Regions from separate parts of the Homo sapiens genome. Here all the other regions are linked to region 4. Evidence: promoter capture Hi-C in 16 types of primary human blood cells and fetal thymus (Javierre and others, 2016). All regions are on one chromosome and are shown on one strand. Each heading gives the region's core, a stretch centred on a gene start or on the middle of the fragment in contact. The rest is flanking DNA. Distances are from core to core; before and after follow the strand shown. Region 1 has its middle 7.6 kb from the start of OR2Y1. Region 2 holds the start of OR2V1 (olfactory receptor family 2 subfamily V member 1). Region 3 overlaps BTNL9 (butyrophilin like 9). Region 4 holds the start of BTNL8 (butyrophilin like 8). Region 5 has its middle 15 kb from the start of TRV-CAC1-2. Region 6 has its middle 9.0 kb from the start of TRV-CAC1-3.

What was found. Contacts are between HindIII fragments. The CHiCAGO score rates a contact against its expected background, and 5 or more counts as called.
Region 1: a contact is called between a fragment that was not itself captured here and the fragment with the promoter of BTNL8 in region 4, in 2 of 17 cell types (naive B cells and erythroblasts). The highest score is 5.3, in naive B cells.
Region 2: the fragment with the promoter of OR2V1 here is called in contact with the fragment with the promoter of BTNL8 in region 4 in 10 of 17 cell types (naive B cells, M2 macrophages, total B cells and 7 more); the score reaches 7.0 in naive B cells.
Region 3: a fragment that was not itself captured here is called in contact with the fragment with the promoter of BTNL8 in region 4 in 7 of 17 cell types (naive B cells, total B cells, erythroblasts and 4 more); the score reaches 10.2 in naive B cells.
Region 5: a contact is called between a fragment that was not itself captured here and the fragment with the promoter of BTNL8 in region 4, in 4 of 17 cell types (naive B cells, total B cells, endothelial precursors and 1 more). The highest score is 6.4, in naive B cells.
Region 6: a contact is called between a fragment that was not itself captured here and the fragment with the promoter of BTNL8 in region 4, in 4 of 17 cell types (total B cells, M1 macrophages, naive B cells and 1 more). The highest score is 6.0, in total B cells.

What each region holds. Positions count from the first base shown.
Region 1 is chr5:180,745,835-180,749,568 of GRCh38, forward strand. No RefSeq gene overlaps it. Among named protein-coding and RNA genes, the nearest start is that of OR2Y1, 7.6 kb to the left of the region's middle. The HindIII fragment of the contact is 254 bases long and covers 2,183-2,436 here.
Region 2 is chr5:181,129,561-181,132,958 of GRCh38, forward strand. OR2V1 (olfactory receptor family 2 subfamily V member 1) reads right to left here and starts at 1,609. Exons shown (of 4, transcript NM_001258283.2): 1 at 1,490-1,609; 2 at 613-655; 3 at 1-15. RefSeq lists an enhancer at 395-896. The HindIII fragment of the contact is 15,941 bases long and covers 1-3,398 here.
Region 3 is chr5:181,058,390-181,061,684 of GRCh38, forward strand. BTNL9 (butyrophilin like 9) reads left to right here. Exons shown (of 11, transcript NM_152547.5): 11 at 848-3,132. The coding sequence ends at 1,473. Among named protein-coding and RNA genes, the nearest start is that of MIR8089, 17 kb to the left of the region's middle. The HindIII fragment of the contact is 3,949 bases long and covers 1-3,295 here.
Region 4 is chr5:180,897,416-180,900,688 of GRCh38, forward strand. It overlaps BTNL8 (butyrophilin like 8), which reads left to right and starts at 1,744. Exons shown (of 8, transcript NM_001040462.3): 1 at 1,744-1,944. The coding sequence starts at 1,896. The HindIII fragment of the contact is 2,662 bases long and covers 1-2,515 here.
Region 5 is chr5:181,080,343-181,083,951 of GRCh38, forward strand. No RefSeq gene overlaps it. Among named protein-coding and RNA genes, the nearest start is that of TRV-CAC1-2, 15 kb to the right of the region's middle. The HindIII fragment of the contact is 5,034 bases long and covers 1-3,609 here.
Region 6 is chr5:181,109,704-181,112,993 of GRCh38, forward strand. No RefSeq gene overlaps it. Among named protein-coding and RNA genes, the nearest start is that of TRV-CAC1-3, 9.0 kb to the left of the region's middle. The HindIII fragment of the contact is 7,483 bases long and covers 1-3,290 here.

The DNA.
Region 1 (3,734 bases), core at 1,060-3,559, 150 kb before region 4:
AACTCTTCTTACAAACTCCCTGGGAGCTCTTTTTCTCTTTCAACAGCAGATGCAAGTTACTCCTCACGTGAAACCAACGTTGGACTTCAGACATATTCCTAGTCCTGTGTCTCATAACCCAGGAGGGTTTGACCATAATGCAAGTCCTGATCAGACCCGCTTGGATATTGGGCAGCGTTCAGCCGTATGTGGAGGGTCTCAGTGCACATCGCTGAGAAGTGGGGAAGGTCTCATCAGGGGAGCACCCAGAATAAGCACAAACCCCCTTCCCACGGATGGTCTCCAAATATTGAAGGAAACGACCATGCTGTGCAAGCTTTGCTGGGTTCTATATTCCTCAAGTGAAGGTGATAGCTTCAACACGTCCATATCCTTTCTTGTTTCCCAAATCTGTCATTTCAGCGAAGAAAGAAAATGACATTAGGCTGATGTAAGTGGTCCCTACTGACTCATTTTCACCTCAGCCTTCCCTAGGTGGTCACAGATGTTCCCTGCACAACCTCACATTTAAAAAATATATACATTGCCCACACTCTGCACTGGTCAGACAGAATTTTGAGTATTTGGCATGTTCTTGGCATTAGACTGGGATTAAAACTTTGACAAAAATCATAGGATCAAAGGACAATAAAACCAATAAGTCATCTGGAAACACCCTGCATGAGAAATAGGTGTTTTATATTTTATTTTAATTGGCACGTAATAATTGTACATATATATGAGGTACAGAGACATATTTAGATGTATACAATACATAATGCTCAATTCAGGGTAATTGTGAATAGCATATTTATCAAATTAGGCATTTTAATTGAGTTTTTAGATCAGAAAATAGAAGTCTCCAAGGCAAGCCTGATGGCTTGTACGCAGGTTGAAAGATCTCATGTGGAGAATGTCGTGAACTTGCATTGCTCTTCTACAAAGGTCAAAACTAGGACCAACAGGCGAAACTTACAAGAGAACAGATTGTGGCTCAATATTAAAAAAAAAAAAAGTGAATAAAATGAAGCAGTCTAAAACTAGGCTGCCTGGAAATGTGATATTCCCATCACTCGAAAGCTTCCTGCTCATTCAGAGGGTGAAAGTTGACTTTTCAGGATGATGTGAAAATGTTCCTGCATTAACTGAAACATTTGTTAGGTGGTTTTGAGCACTGCATCCAACCCTGATAGTTTTCTAATCTTAACTTATCTTTTTAAAATTTAACCCCTATTCTTATCCCTTTGGCACACATAAAGCATTCCTGCATTTCATGTGCATATTTGATATTGTTAAATTTCTGCATTACAAAGACCAATGGTTGTGCTCATCTCTCTGGGTTTTGTTTTTTTGCATTTTTTTTTGAGACGGGGGTCTCACTCCATCATCCAGGCTGGACTGCAGTGGCACTAGTGATCCTCCCCACCAAGCCTCCTGAGTAAGCTGGGTCTACAGGCATACACCACCAGGCCTGGGTAATTTTTTGTATTTTTTGTAGAGACTGGGTCTCCCTATGTTGCCCAAACTGGTCTTGAACTCCTGGGGTCAAGCAATCCTGCTGCCTCAGCCTCCCAAAGCAATGGGATTATAGGCATGAACCACTATGCCTGGTCCGTGCTCATCTCTGCGTGTCTGTGTCTGTGTGTACATCTGTGTGTCTATGCATGACCTCTAAAAATAACACACTTATTGAAATCAGAAATCATGTTTAAATTATTTTCAACAGCACGTAGTACTATATTCTTCATATTCTTCATGCCAGTCTACTAATTTAATGATATTTTCTGACTGTAATAGAGCCACATTCAAGCCAGAAAATTTCATCCTCTGTCTGAGTGAAGGAGGAGGTTCTACAAACTCCTTCCGAAACACCTTCATTGGTAGAACATTCATCCTTAAATTTGAATCTTATTTCACCCTTTTATTACACCTGCATGAGTAGCTCTCTTATTAGTTTTTGGAAGATTAAACCCACTATCAAAACTTACTAGGCACCAAAACATCCTTCCTTCCACTCATCCTCCATCACATCCTCCTCTTCTGCAGACACACCTGACCCTGTTCCTCTCACCTGAGGAATCACACAATATCTCATCATACCCCATGAGACTTTAGGGTGATCTTTAAGACGCTTCTATAAAATACTTAATAATAACCCACATTTCGCAGTATAAGACCAGAAAACTCCGGTTTGAGTTCAGTAAGCTTAATTAACAAAGACTGAATTAACAAGTAGCTTGTTTTAACTCTGATTCCCACACAGAACATTGTCTCCAAATAGGATAGATTCCCTTCTGTCATCTAGTTCTTCAAGAAGTCTTCCGGGATTTATCTTCAACAGCTCTGACCATTGCTCTATTCTTTGTCTCTTGGCACTGAGGCCTATAATTTACTTTGCATACTAGAGCCCTGGCATCATGGAATTTGAGATTTAGAAGAAACTTCAAAATGATTTTAAGCTTCACACTTTACATAAATAAACTTATTTCCCTAAGTTTATGCAGTTGGAGAGAAAAAAAAGAAATTGTTTGACATGCTGTATTCAGTTGAGTGAATGGATGGGTGAGTAAGTGGCAGAGAAAGACTCTATCAGTGATAAAATATGTTCTTGCATGAATTTAATAGCTCTATGTACTCAAACTGGGGATGCTACACAAAGGAATCCCCCACTAATTGCCCAATGAAATATTTCTATGCATGACTTCTAAAAATAACACACTTATTGAAATCAGAAATCATGTTTAAATTATTTTCAACAGCATGTAGTACTATATTCTTCATATTCTTCATGCCAGTCTACTAATTTAATGATATTGTCTGACTATAATAGAGCCACATTCAAGCCAGAAAATTTCATCCTCTGTCTGAGTGAAGGAGGAGGTTCTGGATTTTTAACTATGAAGTCAGAGTGGCCCATCCAGTCAGTACTTACCCAGGGCTCCTGTCCTGGAGAAGCGATGGTTACATAGGCTCCCTCCCTGGGCAGGGCAAAACTGCCCAAGGCCCATTGCCCGCCAGGCAGGAGCCTCCTCCCCCAGGCACCTTCGCTCACTCACCCTAACCAACTCAGCCGTGGAGGAACTGGTGTCTTACCAAACCACCTCCTGACCCTTAGGCTCAGCAGCAATCCTGCCTCAGGAGCATTGCCAAGGCCTCCTTAAGAGGAGTCAGGGGAAAATTGTTTACCAAGTATGACCTTGGAGACCTCCGGGCCCCAATGTGGCAATCAAAATCAACTGACTGAAAAACCAAGATTTGCCTTGAGTCCTCAATTCTCTCTATTCCCCATGCTCTGCCTAAATCAAATGAATCTATTCAGTGTCCTCAGAACCCAACTCTTCCCTTGGTGCATATGACTCTGCATCCTGGGATTCTGCACACTTCTGCTTTCACCCAAATCCTACCAGTCCTTCACCACTCAGACTAAATGACTCATCTCTCTTGGAGCTTACCATATTCACCACCTCAAATCTCTCCCTTCCCTGAGCTCCTCATATAATGCCCATATATCCCCATTATGTGTCTCATTGACTCAATTCAGTATTAATTTCCTTGAAGACAAGTTTGATGCTTTACATTGCTTTCAAACATAGTATACTTCATGTATTAACATTTATTTCTTTATACTCTGTTTTTTATTCACAATAAATTTAAAAGGAAAATGCATTTATTTATCAATTCATTCAAAAATTATCTACTGAGCAATGAGTGCTGTTCTACATACCACAGGAAATAAAACAAGAAACATTTAAGAT
Region 2 (3,398 bases), core at 359-2,858, 230 kb after region 4:
ACAGACGGCAAGATCCTGTCTCAGAAAAAAAAAATTGTATTATGAAACACAACAGAATTTATTCTTGCCTCTCACTGGCTTATCTTCCTGCTCTCTAATTTCAGACCTTTCCGTTGGGTGTTTAGTTAATGGCTTCACTTTTCTTCCTAGAAACCACAACATAGAAGAAGCCACTGCATCTCTGCAATATTCTCCCCGGCACGGGAGGACCCCGTCCCACATCAGCCCCCTCCTTCCTGCTCCTTCACCTTCGCACTCCCCACACATCTGTCCTTGTCTTCCTGCTGTGGACCATCCTCCACCCCAGGGACCTAGAGCCCAGTCTCCAACCCAGACAGAGGGAGGGGGACGGGAAAAGGGGAGTAGGACACCAAGGAAAGAGAGAGAGGTGGGTCAAAGGAAGAGAACGAGAAGAAAGAGTGAGGAGAAACATCACACCAGAAGACGGATGCCCCTCCAAACACCCACACGAAACAGTTACACCCTGATGGAGGCAGACAGCAGGAGGAAGAGCAAGTGCTGATGAACAAGATAAATGGGGACGTGAACCAGCAATGGGAGCAGGAGCTGCAGGGAAGAGAGAGGGGACGACAGGACAAGACCCTCACTCACCTGTGGGTGGGTCCCTGCAGGGGAACAAACTCAGCAGAGTCACCTGTGGAGGAGTTCCTAGCGTCAGAGCCATGCACTCATCCTCCTGTGTTTGCTCCCACTGGGTCGGGGGACAGGAGGAGCCGCAGCCCCAACCTCCTTCCTCAGCCCGCACCGACTACTCATCGGGTTGTGGAGCCCACGGCACCCTCAGCCTCCAGTGGCCCCTCAGGCTCAGAGAGCAAGGCTCACACAGACCACAGCCTCCTCTCAGAGGGAGAAACAGGCTCAGGGAAGGAGCTGGTGCTGGCAGGAGAGGTGGAGCCAGGAGCAGTGCCCTGAGCCCACCCAGGATTCCCACCTGCCTCCAGGACACCCTGGCTCTGGCCAGGTGGCAGAACCGCCTCCCACTGCCCACACAGGTACTGAACCCAGACACGGGGTGAAGAGGGGAAGCTGACTTCAGACCTCAGCTCCCAGGGGACCCCACAGACTCCAGCCCTGGAAGAGGTGCTCCCAAGATTACAATTAAAAAGACCCACAGAGGGACCTGGGGACAGGAACAGGAGCAGGGCCAGTGGGGACAGCGTGAGGAAACCCAGCTGGGGGAGGAGGAACGCAGGGCAGAGGAATACAGGAATGCGGAGGACATTCTTGGTGCCCTACATTGCCCCCCCACACACACATCAGCACTTCCCAGCGACCTCCAGGGCCCTCATGGGGTCTCCATGTCACAGCTGTCCCTTGGGCCCTCGCTGCACCCCACACCTGTCCTTCACCTGCCCCCATTAAGTCAGCCTACATCACCCGTGACATGCAAAGCACTGGGTGGGGGGCTCTGGACACAGTCCTTGCTCAAGGGGTCTACAGCCTCGTGGGAGGGAAAGAACAGCCCCACCTTCACGAGAGTCGGGTGGAGCCTGGGGGCCTGGTTGGGATCCTCATAAACCTGACAGGCGTTTCTGCAGGGTCAGTGTCTTCGTGGGCTGCTGGGGATGGGGCTGAAGTCCACGGTTCTGATGCTGCCACTGCCTTTTACTCTCAAGAGCATTTCACATCGGAGGATGCATTTTATGGTCACTCTGTGGCTATTTATGTCCCATGGAAGCAGGCCATTTTCTCAGGGGCCAATGTGCTTGAAATCCCCTTGCCACATGGCTCAGACACCAGAGGCGTTTGTTCCTTCTGAATCTCGACTTCCTTGTGTGTCTTTGCTACCACACTTTTGGTGTGTGCCCTCTTCCTGATCCAGCTTCCAGCTATGGCAGGAGTCTGAGGAACATGCAGGCGAGGAGGCCATGAGGGAGACACAGGAAGACCGGGGCAGAGAGAGGTAGACTAGGGAGGAAGGGAATGGCCACCTCGCAGCTGGAGTGGGGCAGGCTGGCTTTTGAGGACTGGACCTGCAGCGTCTCCCACTCCTCTCCCACACCGGCCTTCTCCTCTATCCTCCTATGCACCCAACGCTTTCCACACTCACACTTTTTCTCCAGCCACTTCTCCCCACCGGCACTTCCTCTGTCTTCTTCCTCTGTTACTCTTCAGCCTTATCTAATTCCCCAAGACCGAGCTCAAGCCCACCTCCATTCAGATTCCTCCGGAACTCAATCCACCATGACCTCCGCCGGCCATGGCTTCCTGTCTACACTCTGGCAGCGTATGTCCATGGCCTGCTGACAGCTCTTGTATTGCCTTTTATCGTATTATTCAGGGGGAACTTTTGATCATGTGCAAACAAGGAAACACTTTTATTTTTGTACAGCCACTGCTTTTAAATAAGACATCACAATTCATTCTCCACATCTTCATGACATCTCATGCAGATCAAGAGTTTTCTGGTGACTTTGGGTGGTAAGACGAAGGCTCATTTATATATTCTAAAATCCAGTCCATTGAAAATCAAAATTTGAATCTCACATTCAATTCAGTGTTGGTCCCCTTGACACAGCCTAAATCAAGACTAACTTGGGGCTTGGAGTCCCACAGTAGAGAAGGGAGAAGAGTCTGCTAACAGCAATCATATTATGTGTCCTTTCAGATTTTAAGGGAGGTGGGGATACTCTTTGAAATGTCCGTTTTTCTCAAATAAGTTACTAGGATGTCTGAACTGATTTATTTGGAGAACTGCCCTGCATAAATAGAAGCACTGTCTTTTACATGAGTATCTTAATTTAAAAATGTTTAATCTGGCACGGTGGTGCGTGTCTGTGGTCCCAGCTACTCTGGAGGCTGAGGTGGGAGGATCATTTAAGCCCATGAGGTCAGGGCTGCAGTGAGCTGAGATCACACCCCTGCACTTCAGCCTGGGCAACAGAGCCAGACCCTGTCTCAAAAAAAAAAATTATTGTCTAGGACATTCAAATTTTCAACCTCCCCTAATTTTTGTACTAAAATGAAAGCAGCAGCTGTCACATAAATGTCCAGGAAATGTCATTATTGATGTTTCTCTGTTAAGAATTCTTCTTAAATGCTCATCCTATTATTATGTTTTATTCTTGATATTTTAGAGAAACTTACTGATGTATTTACTGAGGAAACTATGTGATTTCTGAAACTTATTTGTAGATAATCCAGTTGTGAAGGGGAGAGGGAGAGGTGGGTGGGGAGTAGACGGAACGGTGTTGACCCTGAGCTGCCAATTGCCAGCACCGGGTGGTGAGTGCAGAGAAGTTCATTATACGATGCTTCCAGGTTTTAGGTGTGTCTAAAATGCTCTATAACAAGAACCTGGAAGGTCACTCCACACTGGTTGAGTAAACTGTAATGTATCCACATAACAGAGTGCCGTACGACTGTAAAAAGAACAT
Region 3 (3,295 bases), core at 90-2,589, 160 kb after region 4:
CAGGAAACTGATTTGTGTTTTGGTTTGGCCGGATCTTAAACAGAAGGGAGGTGGAGAGATCTGAGATTAGAGGACGGGGCTTTATAGGAGCCAAGTATGGGGCCTGCACACACAAGACACACACGCACACTTGCAAACACGCCACACGACACATATGCCTGCATGTGTATGCACACACATGCACACGTGAGCTCCCAAACACATCGCTCCTTGGGGTTACACTAGGTTTGTTTCCATCTGGCTTGAGGCTATTTGCAGGCGAGAGTGCAGAGTCTGTAATGAACCTCCCAGATTCTCTGACGAAGGGGTCCCCTAGGTTCCCATCTGTCAGATGGCATGGGGTGTTGAAATGTGGGGCACTGGACTAGATGATCTCAAAGGTCCTTTTAAAATCCTTTTAAAAACTTTTCTGAAGGACTGTATGTAAAAAAAAAAAAAAAAAATCCAAAATTTCTGTAAAATGACGCTCAGCGCTCTCCTGATTATGCCAAGGTCACGCAGGGTGGTGCCACCAGCAGGAACTAGAACCAGCCCATAGGTCCTTCCCCTTGACCGGGACGTGGCTCCCTCCCCGCCAGCCTACTTCCTTTGCTATCTCTGGTATGGAATTCAGGGACCTTCCAGTTCAGGAAAGGACAGGATTCCTTGTCACTATCAAACACTCAGGAGTGACTGACACATGCCACTTCAGTCCTGGGGAGGGGGTTTGCAGGGGTGAGGGTCGGGGTAAGGGGTTCATTTCCTCGATTATTCCACCAAGAGAAACGAGAGGTTTGTCCGCCTTGGGGAAGACACGGACGGGGCCCAGACCGTCCCGGGCGGGCACTAACGCTGTGGCTCTGCGCAGTGGATGTGACGCTGGACCCGGCCTCGGCGCACCCCAGCCTGGAGGTGTCGGAGGATGGCAAGAGCGTGTCTTCCCGCGGGGCGCCGCCAGGCCCGGCGCCTGGCCACCCGCAGCGGTTCTCGGAGCAGACGTGCGCGCTGAGCCTGGAGCGGTTCTCCGCCGGCCGCCACTACTGGGAGGTGCACGTGGGCCGCCGCAGCCGCTGGTTCCTGGGCGCCTGCCTGGCCGCGGTGCCGCGCGCGGGGCCTGCGCGCCTGAGCCCTGCGGCCGGCTACTGGGTGCTGGGGCTGTGGAACGGCTGCGAGTACTTCGTCCTGGCCCCGCACCGCGTCGCGCTCACCCTGCGCGTGCCCCCGCGGCGCCTGGGCGTCTTCCTGGACTACGAGGCCGGAGAGCTGTCCTTCTTCAACGTGTCCGACGGCTCCCACATCTTCACCTTCCACGACACCTTCTCGGGCGCGCTCTGTGCGTACTTCAGGCCCAGGGCCCACGACGGCGGCGAACATCCGGATCCCCTGACCATCTGCCCGCTGCCGGTTAGAGGGACGGGCGTCCCCGAAGAGAACGACAGTGACACCTGGCTACAGCCCTATGAGCCCGCGGACCCCGCCCTGGACTGGTGGTGAGGCGCCCTCGTGGCCGCGGGACTGGCCCCGGGGGGCCCCCTGGATCCCAGGCCAGCGCTTTGCTCTCCTGCTCCGTCTGAAGGGAGCAGGTGCACCAGCCAAAATGTCAGCGAGGGGGACAAAGAGAGGGACCTTTGCCTACGTAGATGTGTATGTGTAGTGCGATTTTCTTCAAGGAAAGGAGACAAGTCCAAAGCTCGTTTGTGGATTGTGGGACTGAGCGAAGGAGTACAAATATATCCACGTCGCTCAGAGCTGGGGTGCTCACGGTGGGCGGTGGGCAAGAAGCCAGCATGGAAGAAAGAAGGGAGAAAACTTTGGTGACTGCCTTAGAGGGATCAGTTAATTTGTATAGTTTTATATTTTTTGTATATGTTTGCTAGCTCTAAAAAGGTCGAGATGCAATAACACTTCGTAAGCAACGAGTTCACCTAAGTAAGGCTCAGATCCTAGTTTTAAAAACCATTTCCCATTAAAATGAAGTTGGAGGAACAGCTGCTTCTGGAGCCGGGGCAAAAATTTCAAGGTGAGCCTGGAGCATTGTGTGTGGTGAAGTAAAATAAAGGCTCAAAACGTGACGGCAACCCGGCAAAAGGGTAGGGAGCCAGGCCGAAGGGGCCTCACTGACCAATTGTGGGACAATTTGAACATCAGGATGAATAATGACAGGAGAGATTATAACACACTGAATAAAAACATAATCCATGAGTTCATGCTGATACTCAAATTTCTTTTTAAAAAGGAGAAACAGGAAGGTTTCTTTTGGAGGTGAAATCTAATTATTGGTGAGAGTCTTGGAGAACAGGCTGTTTCCAGTCTCAAAGCAGTAACCTTATACACTACTTATAAGTTTGAAAGGGGAAAGGTTACCTTTACAATGGAGACATCTACCAGATCATCCAAGTGATTAAATTTAACATCATCAATGATGGGACCAAGGACATTATTAGTTTGACAACTGGGGAAAGAAGTGTTCTTCACCCCCTACCCCCAAGACATTGTCTCTGTCGGCCAGGCTGGAGTGCAGCCTCAACCTCCTGGGTCCAAGTGATCCTCCCACCTCAGCACACAACACCATGCCCAATTTTAAGTGCGTTATAGAGACGGGGGTCTCACTTTGTTACCCAGGCTGGTCTCAAACTCCTGCGCTCAAGCAATCCTCCCACCTGGGCCTCCCAAAATGCTGGGTGTACAGGCATGAGCCGCTGTGCCTGGCTTCATTTTCAGAGTGAGACATTTGTACTGTGGCTATGTAGGAGAACATTCTTGTTCTTAGCAAACATACTGAAGTTTTTAGATATTAATTACCACAGTGTCTGCCACTGAATTTCCAGTGACTAAGTGGAAAAATATAAAACATATGAATATAAAGAAAGAAAGAGACAAGTCAAATGTAGTAAAATGACAACACTTGGTGACTCTAGGTGACTGGTCGACAGATGTTCATTGTACTATCAATGTGGCTTTGCTGTGGGTTTGAAATTTTGCAAACTAAGAGTTGGGTGGCGGGGAGAAGGATACACCAAAAAACTAAGTGATTATCTTTGGATGGGAAAATGTTTGGTAATTGCATTCTTAAAATGTCTTCTTTGTATTTTTTAATGTTCAATAATGTATATGTATCAGTTCTGTAATAAAGGGGAAAACACTTTTTTTAAATACTCATATTCAAAATCATTCATTTGAAAGGAGCTATAATGAAACTGCTGGACGATCTCCTAGGCCATTGTTTCAGAGTAAGTAAATATGGCTCTCATCCCCTTCCCCTTAATCCAGGCAGAGCTTTCCTTGCCCGTCTTGTTTGAAAGGGGGAATGAGGAAG
Region 4 (3,273 bases), core at 494-2,993:
TTCCCTCGGGTGGGATGCAGGGCTGGTTTGTGTGCTGAGGGAATAAGACCAGTGTTCTGGCTTGGGCATAGCTTTTCTGGAGGTGGGGCACCAGGCCGCTTTATGTGCCAAGGGAGCACAGCTGCTCCACCATCTCAGACATTGCTTTCCTGGGGCTGAGTCTGGGGCCCCCAGTTAGTGTGCACACAAGGGGGTATTGTTGCCATTCTATTGCGCATGCTTCTCTGGGGTCAAGGTGCTTGGCTCATGCTTGAGAGGGTACAACTGCTTCACCAGGCCAGGCTTGGCTTCCTTGCTGGGTTGGACTGTTTGGTCCTTGGGGGCCAGAGCAGCCTGTAGGTTCAGAAGCCTGGGTCATGACCGTTCCACTGGGCCTAGGCCTAGGCTTCGAATGGCCATGGGTGGGGCATAGCTGCCACTGGAATGGAGAGGATACTGTGCCTTCTCAGCAGCTTCATAAAAAGGTATTTTGGTCTATATATCCTTGGTAAATCTGTATTTCTGAGACAGCATGAGATCAATAATTTTCTATTCTACTCTCTTGCTTACAACATTCAACAACTCATTTCCTTTTTTTTTTTATCACAGAGTAATATTCCATTGTATAGATGTACCATAGTTTGTGTATACATTCTATGTATCATTATTGAATGATATCTGGTTGCAAACATTTTTGGCAATTATGAATAAAGCTGCTATAAACATTCATGTGCAATTTTTCATGTGGACATATGTTTTCAAGTCATTTAGGTGAATAAAAAGCAGTGCAGTTGCTGGATTAGGTGATAAAAGTATGTTTAATTTTGCAGGAAATTGCTGAACTGTCTTCTAGAACAACCGTACCGTCTTGCATTCCTGTCAGCAATCAGTGAGAATTCCTGTTGCTCCGCATCCTCACCAGCATTTGGTGTTGTCAGTGTTCTAGATTTTAGACTAAATGCAGTGTTTTCATTTTGTCCTATTCTAGATGCTAACTTTTATTGTGATTTAGTCTCGTGAGTTGTTTTAAATTGTTACATAAGAATTTCTTAGTGTATAGAGTTTCCTATGTTTTTGAATTACTTTTTAATTTTAATTGCATTATGATTAGAGTATGTTTATTTTGATGGTTATCTGTGGAAATTTTCATTCTGATCTAGTTAAGTGGTGACTTTGTGAGTTTCCGTGTGCTTAAAAAGACTGCAAATCTCTCATTGTGGCTGCCCTGGAACTTAGTTTATATAATAAATAAGTTTCCTCATGTCTGAACCTGCCCAGGCACCTTTCCCAATGTATCAGATGTTTAACACTAAGGATCTGTTTTGTTCTGGAAAGTTATTTTTATCTGGCCTCATGATTACAGTCCTGGCCCTGAACTTCAGAGAATGGAGGGGTAAGCAAAAGGACCTCAGACTGTGCCAGGAAATGTCAAGTCACCTGCTGTAGGCTACTACTAATGGAGCATGGCCTATTTACTTGGACACCAAACTATCCAGTGCTAACATGAGGTTTTTCAGGACTAGATCCCATGGCCATACAGCCCTGCCTGCCAGATTGGACGTGAAAAGTATTTCCGCATCTGACATTCCTGTTTCACCCACACAGGGCATCGTTTTGCCCAGGACAAAGTTCACCTCCAATCTTATCCACACTATTTCTATCTTTGCTTCCTTGATAAGATATAGACATTTATGCAGTGGTTCAAAGTCTAGAGTCCCTACACTTCTGGTACATGACAGCTGTGTCTCGATGGAGTAGACTCTCAGAACAGCGCAGTTTGCCCTCCGCTCACGCAGAGCCTCTCCGTGGCTTCCGCACCTTGAGCATTAGGCCAGTTCTCCTCTTCTCTCTAATCCATCCGTCACCTCTCCTGTCATCCGTTTCCATGCCGTGAGGTCCATTCACAGAACACATCCATGGCTCTCATGCTCAGTTTGGTTCTGAGTCTCCTCAAGCTGGGATCAGGTAAGACTCATCTTTGTTTCCTCCTTACTAACTAACAGTTTGAGTTCTTTAGCTACAATGGTTGCAGCATAATGGAATGAAGGCATCTTTGTCGTTTCCATTCCTTTGGCTTCTCCTAGCCTCAGCCTGGGGAAGGATCAGGCGCTGTGGAAACAATTATAGTAGCCCCCAAATAATGGAAACACGGGTGTTGAAGACGCACCGTGATCGTTGACGGGGACACACCTAACGTGTTAAGGTGAATAAATTCAGTGTTTCTCCCAGATGGGCTGAGTGGTGTAGGCAGGGTTATTGGAGCACCAAGGTTGCTGACATGGATGTCCATCTGGGAAGAGACACAGTTAGGATTTTTGGGGAAAAGACAATGTATCCAGCTAAAGACATGCTGAGTTAGAAATGTCTGTGGTATGAGACACGAGGGTGGAGGAAGGTGTACAGGTCTTGAGGTGAGAAATTAGCTGAAACCTGGCATATTCTGGGAAGAAATCCACTCTTCTTTCTCCTTCCAGTTACTGTTAACACAGAACCTAGTATATAGGATGTTGAGTGACTGAATACAATTCACAGAGGAAGCTTGAGGTTGGGGTAGAATGCTGGTGGCTAGATGGTCAGTACCCAGCCACAGAAGATTCGATTGACTGTGTTCACTTTCTGTCTGTGAAGGTTCATCCTGCCACCTGTCCACCTATATCTTTTTTGCTAAATGAAGCTAAGAAAACAGAAATAAGGGCAATCAAAACATAGAGCATGTTTCCTTAAAACAAAAACCCATATGTGTTACTAACAGGAGACGCTCTCGTTTCAGTTTGTTTTCATTTATTTTCTGACGAGCTTCTTTGTTTCCCTTCTGTTTCCGGGTGAGGCAGCAGGACATCCTGGAAATGATCTTGGAGACAGAAACATTTTATTTTTAAAAACTCTTATTTCATTTTCTTGTGAGCTTTATTGTTCACAGCTTCCTTAGGTGTTGGTTTGCTTATGATGACATGGAGATACGATCACATTCCTGCTGGGGCTGTGGTGAGGACTGCATGAGCTTGTGCATGTAGAGTGCACACAGCTGCACGGGTGCATGGCATGTTGCAGCAACAGTCTTGTTCCTTTCTTATTTTCAAGGGAAGGAAGTGGAAGGAGTGAAAGGAGATGTTATAGGCAAGAGAGGTGACAGCAGCAAGGGCTGGCCGGAGAAATGGAGGTACCCTGAAAAATGTTTCCTTGCCTCAAGAGCCCCACACAGCCCTGAAGGCAGCATCCATAGCAGCCCAGCTGGCATACGCTGGGTCCCCAAACCTGACCTAAGACAAGGGCCTTCCTGCCAGTGATTCGTTG
Region 5 (3,609 bases), core at 422-2,921, 180 kb after region 4:
GATAGAGGGGAATTCCTCAAATTGATAAAGAACATCTATAGGCAGAGCATGCTGGTTCATGCCTAAAATCCCAGCACTTTGGGAGGCCAAGGCAGAAGGATTGCTTGAGGCCAGGAGTTTGAGATCAGCCTGGGCAACATAGAGAGATTCCATCTCTAAAAAGAAAGACACACACACACACACACACACACACACACACAGAAACATCCACAGAAAAAAAACTAGCTAACATCATACTTAATGGTTAGTGAGAAACTAGGTGTTCTCTCCTTAAGATCAGGAGCAAGGATGTCCCCTACTATCATTCTTATTCAACATTGTACTGAAGTCCTAACTAATGCAAGAAGATTTTAAAAAGGAAATTAAAGCTATACAGATCAGGGGGAAAAAAGAAACTGTCTTTCTTCACAGATGACATGATTGTCTATGTAGAAAATACCAAAGTATTGACCAAAAACTCCTGAACTAGCAGATGATTATAGCAAGATTTTTTCTTTTCTTTTCTTTCTTTTTTTTTTTTTTTTTTGAGATGGAGTCTCACTCTATTGCCCAGGCTGGAGTGCAGTGGCTTGATCTTGGCTCACTGCAACCTCTGCCTCCTGGGTTCAAGCGATTCTCCTGCCTCAGCCTCCAGAGTAGCTGGGATTACAGGCACGATCCACCACGCCCAGCTAATTTTTGTCATTTTAGCAGGGACCAGGTTTTACCATGTTGGCAAGGCTGGTCGTGAATTCCTGACTTCAGGTGATCTGCCTGCCTCGGCCTCCCAAAGTGCTGGGATTACAGGCATCAGCCACTGCACCAGCCAGATTACAGCAAGATTACTATGTAGTGAATTATCATAATTTTATGTTGCCTCAGCACCCATTTTTCAGGGAAGTTTAACTTTCCTATGCCGGAAGGAGAGCTCAGTCACCCTTGACACAGTTTTCAGGTTCTACATCTCCTCCCAGTTCCTCAAGGTGGTCAGTCCAGATATCTGCTGTGCACAGCTGCCTCCCGGTGCCCACCTCCGCATGGCACAGCTACATACAGCCCACTCGACTAGCCCTGCATACTCTATGTAGTGGGATGGATGGCTGCACGTGAGATTTCAAGTCATAGTGGGTACCTTCGGACTGCTTGTTTAATTATGCTCATCAGATGCCTGACTCAGGTTTCTCCAGTAGCCTTTAGTGTCTCTGCTACTCAAATGGCACCCATGATAAGGCACAAGGTCTAATGCCTAGACATTACAGGGTCAATTTCAATGGTATTGACACAGCAGAGGTTTCTGCCTACGTATTAGAAGAACACCACACCCTAATGGCCCAAGCCAGTGGCCAAGGATAAAAACCTTGGAGGAACCTCTTCTGCCTAGTTGACTGGGCTCCCCACTTTCCCACCGCTTCCTTTAAATGGACCATTCAGGTATTTGCCCTTGAACTTAAAGCCACCCACAGTGTATTCTCCAACATACACTTCTAATTTCTGCATTCTTTCTCCCTGCCTGTACTCCCTAAACTAACCTCTCTGTGTGGGGGGCCTCCAAGCATGTCATATACTACCAGAACCTATAAGTAATAAAATCTTTATTTCTATTTTGTGTCTCTCCTAATCATTGAAGGGTTGCTCTCCATTTTAAAGATCATAAGTTTTAAAATACAGGACACAAAGTTAATAAACAAAAGTCAATTGCTTTACTATATGCCAGCAATAAACAATTGGGATTTAAAAATTAAAAATACAATAACACTAACATTAGCACTTAAAAAGTACTTAATAATAAATCAAAAAAATGGGTACAAGGTCCATATAAGGAAATCTAATGAAATCAAAAAAAGTTCTAAGTAAATGGAAAGATATTCCATGTTCATGGATAGGAAAGCTCAATCTTTTAAAGATGCCAATCCTTCCTAATTTCATCTACAGATTCAATGTAATCCAATCAAAATCCCAGCAGGTTATTTTATAAATACTGACAAACTGATTCTAAACATTATATGAAAAGGCAAAAGACCCAGGAGAGCCAACACAGTATTGAAGAAGAAATAAGTTGGAAGACTAATACTACCTAAAGGCTTACTATAAAGCTACAATAATCAAGAAAGTATAGTGTTGGCAAAGGAATAGACAGCTAGATCAATGAAGAAGAATAGAGAACAAACAGATCCACACAAATATACTTAACTGATATTTTGACAGGAATTAAAAGCAATTCAACAGATAATGTATGGTCTTTTCAAGAAATGATGCTGGAATATTTAGGCATGCATGTGCCAAAAAAAAAAAAAAAGGAAAAAAACATGAATCCAGACACTGATCTTACACCTCTCACAGAAATGAACTCAAAATGGATTATAGACCTAAATTTAACATGCAAAACTACAAAACTTTTACAAGAGAACCCGGGGAAAATCTGGGGAAGTTTTTCAAAGCATGATCCATGATCTATGAAGAAAAACGGGTATGTTGGACTTCACTGAACTTAAAAACTTCTGCTCTGCAAAGACATTGTTAGGGAAATGGAATGACAAGGCACAGACCGGGAGAGAATATTTGCTGAATACATATCTAACGAGGCACTTGTATTAACCAGCAATACCAGCACTTAGGGAGGCTGAGTTGGAAGGTTCACTTGAGCCCAGGAGTTCCAGATCAGCCTGAGAAACATAGGGAGAAAATTTTTTTTTTTAAATGTGCTGTGTGTGGTGACACTTGCCTATAGTCCTAGCTACTCAGGAGGCTGAGGCAGGAGGAACACTTGAGCCCGGGAGTTGCAAGCTGCAGCAAGCCATGATCATGCCACTGTACTTTAAGCTGGGTGAAAGAGCAAGATTCTGTCTCATAAAATAAAACAAAACAAAACAAAAAAAACTGAACAATAAGAAAACAATTCAATTAAAAAATATGCAGGCTGGTGTGGTGGCTCACACCTGTAATCCCAGCACTTTGGGAGGCTGAGGCGGGAGGATTGCTTGAAGCCAGGAGTTTGAGACTGGCCTGCACAACACAGCGAGACCCCAGGTCTACAAAAAAATAAAAAATTAGCTGGGCATGGTGGCATATGCTTGTGGTCCCAGATACTCAGGAGGCTGAGTAGGGAGGATCGCTTGAGCCCAGGAATTGGAGGCTACAGTGAGCTATGATTACACCACTGCTCTCCAGCCTAGGCAACAGAGCAAGACTCTGTCTCAAAGAATAAAAATAATGATCAAAAGATCTGAAGAGACGTCTCACCAAAGAAAATGTACAGATGGCAAATGAACATATGAAAAGATGCTTGATATCATTCATTATTAGAGAATTGCAAATTAAAACAATGAGATTTCACTACATGTAAAAATGGCTAAAATCTAAAACAATGACAAACACCAAATGCTGACATGCACGGGGCAAGCGATAGTCACCTGAAGACAGTCTGACAGCTTTTTACACAGCTAAACATAACCTTGCCATATGAGCCAGCAATTATGCTCCTAGGTAGTTACTCAAATGAGTTGAAACATTTGCCCATATAAGCATCTGAACATGAATGTTTATAGTAGCTTTATTCATAATTGCCAAAAACTGGAGGTAACCAAGATACACTTCAAAAGGTGAATCAACACATTGTGCTCTGTCCTCATA
Region 6 (3,290 bases), core at 311-2,810, 210 kb after region 4:
GACTGGGCAGAGGGAGGAGCTGAGCGGCAAGACAGTTACCACTGAGGCCTCAGCCCACCCCAGGGCTGCTGGGAGGGGCCTGCAGGAACGTCCAGTGGAGGTGAGGCTGAGGTGGGAGGGCCTGGCCTTTGTGCCCCTGTTCCAATCAGTCTTTGGGTCCTGGCTGCTTCCAGGGAGGAGGCGTGGCCCTGGGTGAGGCATTTCCCTTCCCCCAGGGCAATGCCTACAGAGGGGTTCAGTGCAGGCTGTGCTCCCAATCGAGGGGTGCGTCTGGTCTGGGTGGAGGGATCTGCATGGGGCATCGCAGCATCCACCCCACTATGGTCACCAAAGACCCGTGCAAGAACCTTCCCAGCAGCACTGTTCTATTGCATAGACATCCAAACTGGAAACTTCCCCAGTGTCCATCAGTGGAGAATGGACAAACAAGGTGTGATGCTGACAATAGTAAACTTCCACCTGAGCCTTGAGCTCCTGGGAAACGGCGACTATTAAGAAATCCTCCACCCTCTCAAGCAGTTTGAAAATTTTTCGAGGAACTTAGAACTACCCTTTGACCCAGCAATCTCATTACTGGGTTTACATCCAAAAGAAATAATTGTTTCACCAAAAAGACACCTGGCGCTTGTATTTTCATCGCAGTGCTGTTCACAATAGCGAAGCCACGGTGCCCGTCCACGGTGGATTGCATAAAGAAAGTGTGGTACATAGACACCATGGGATATGACACAACCATCAAAAAGAACGAAATCATGTCCTTTGCAGCAACGTGGATGCAGTGGAAGCCGTCATTCTAAGTGAGTTAAGGAAGGAACAGAAAATCAAATACTGCATGTTCTCACCTGTAAGTGGGAGCTAAACACTGGGTAGTCATGGACGTAAAGATGGCAACAAGGGATGCTGGGGACTCCTAGCGGGGAGGGAGGAAGGGAGAGGGTAGGGTTGCAAAGCTATAGGGTGCTATGCTCAGCACCTGGGTGAGGGGATCGTTCATACCCCAAACCTCAGCACCACACAATATACCCAGGTAACAAACCTGCAGATATACCCCTTGAATCCGAAATAAAAGTTGAAATTATTAAAAAGAAAATAGAAGAAATGCCCCACCCTCCTGTAGGCCTTTCCCCTGCCACATGGATAAGGCAGGATGGTGAACCCCTGTTGACCAACGATGAGGCCAGATCCAGACCCTCCAAATTCCCGATCTTCAACTCATGAGTGACTAGCTGAACTGTTTGTCCGCACTGACCAATCTGGATAAAATGCCTGTTGACTTGTCCATACTTTAGTCAGGCTTCCTGGTTCCCCACAGGCTGTGACCTTGGCCCACCTTGAGCAGCATGGGAACCCCTCTAACAGCCCCTCCTCAGAATCTCAGTTTCAGGAGAACACTCCCCGGTGCACTGTCCCATCTGTCACTGCTCATCCCGCCCCACCTGCCGCGGTCTTTCTAGCCTTGCTGACGCCTCCCTGCAAATGTGAAGCCCTTTCTGTAGCCTGGGACAGGGGTTCTTGCTGTCAAAGGATGGACCTCCTACTGCAACAGCCCCCTCCCTACTGCAGGGGGCTCTCCTCAGGCTGGAGTGCAGTGTTGCCATCTCAGCTCACTACAGCCTTGACCTCCTAGGCTCAAACAATTCTCCTGCCTCAGCCTCCCCAGTAGCTGAGACCACAGCTGCTTGCCACCACACCTGGCTAATTTTTGTATTTTTCATAGAGACCGGGGTCTCCCCATGTTGCCCAGGTGGGTCTTGAACTCCTGGGCTCAAGTGATCCACTTGCCTCAGCCTCCCAAAGTGCTGGGATTACAGGCATGAGCCACACACCTGGCTGAGAGTGTGTTAAGATACTTAAAATCTCAGGCCAGGCGCGGTGGCTCACGCCTAAAATCCCAGCATTTTGGGAGGTCCAGGCCAGAGGATCCCTTGAGGCCAGGATTTCAAGACTCACCCGGGAAACAAGAGGAAAACCTAGTCTCCACAAAAAATAAAAGAAAAACTTAGCCACAGCGGCAGTGAGCTATGATTGTGACACTGCACTCCAGCCTGAGCCACAGAGGAGAACCTGTCTCAAAAAAATAAAACATAAATAAAAACGCCTATCTCTGGGCTCCCCCTCAGAGTCTGTTTGCTAGGTCTGGGCTGGGGTCCAGGAATTTCCATTTCTAACAAGTTCCCAGGAGATGCTGCTGCTGCGTGCAGAACCTCAGCCCCAGGGGAAGGTAGCTTTCTGTGACTTGCTGTTTACTACTTGTTAAAATTCACTGAGACATTGGATGATAAGGTGTAGCCCTGTGGGGTTGAGATCTAAATGATTCTTGTTGTGTATAAAAGATAGCCCAGCAGCTACAGGTTTATTGCCTTGGAATTTATTAACCTGTTTTGTATCAAACTTAGCATTTGTATCCATCCTTCTTCCTCCCTGAGTGCATAACCCCACTTCTCTAACTCCCCGTGACTCAGACTCGCCATCCTGACAATTCCCTCATCAATGAGCTATACGCCTTTGCGTGTGTTTGCTGTATAAGTACATGACATATTGATGAGATACACAGTATGTATATGTGTTGTTAATGTTTCAAAGATTATGCTTTCATGGCAGAAACATCTATATATATGCTCCAAGACATGTATGGTTGTTCCTTACATCACCATAGTATAGGAAACCTGGAAGGAAACAATTCAAATGTGATCACTAGGGGTGTGGGTACACAGCACATGGTCTATCCACGTTATACACTCAAAAATAGTGAAGTGTGGGCCTCTAGGCATGGCAGAGGGCAGAAGCTGGCAAATCTGTTCCCACACCCAAAAGTATAAAATGGGACAAAATTGTCAAGAGCGATCATTTCAGAGCTCTCAAAATTGACCAAAGGCAAATCATCAAATGGAGAAACATATACTCATAATAAAAAGCTGCCAGAACTTCTAGTTAGAACAGCAGGACTTTGCAGCCTTCTTGCCTGGAGCTGCTGTCATTCTGGCACCCTGCCCTGATATCCTAGGCTGGGCCGGCCTTGAAAACCAGTAGTCTCACCCGCAAAGGGGGCTGATTTAATTTGGAACTGGGAAAAAAACTCAGACCTGCTGATGAGACGGGATTGTTCCCTTGATTTTGACCCCCTTCATGGGTGGGTACTGGAGAGGCTCGTTTCACTCAGCCTGCTGGGTGGCGGGTCGGGGGGTGGGGAACACTGCGTCTATGAAAACATTTTAAAAATTGCCATGTATGGTGGCTCCCACTTGTGGTCCCAGCTACTTGGGAGGCTGAGGTGGGAGGAACATTGAGCC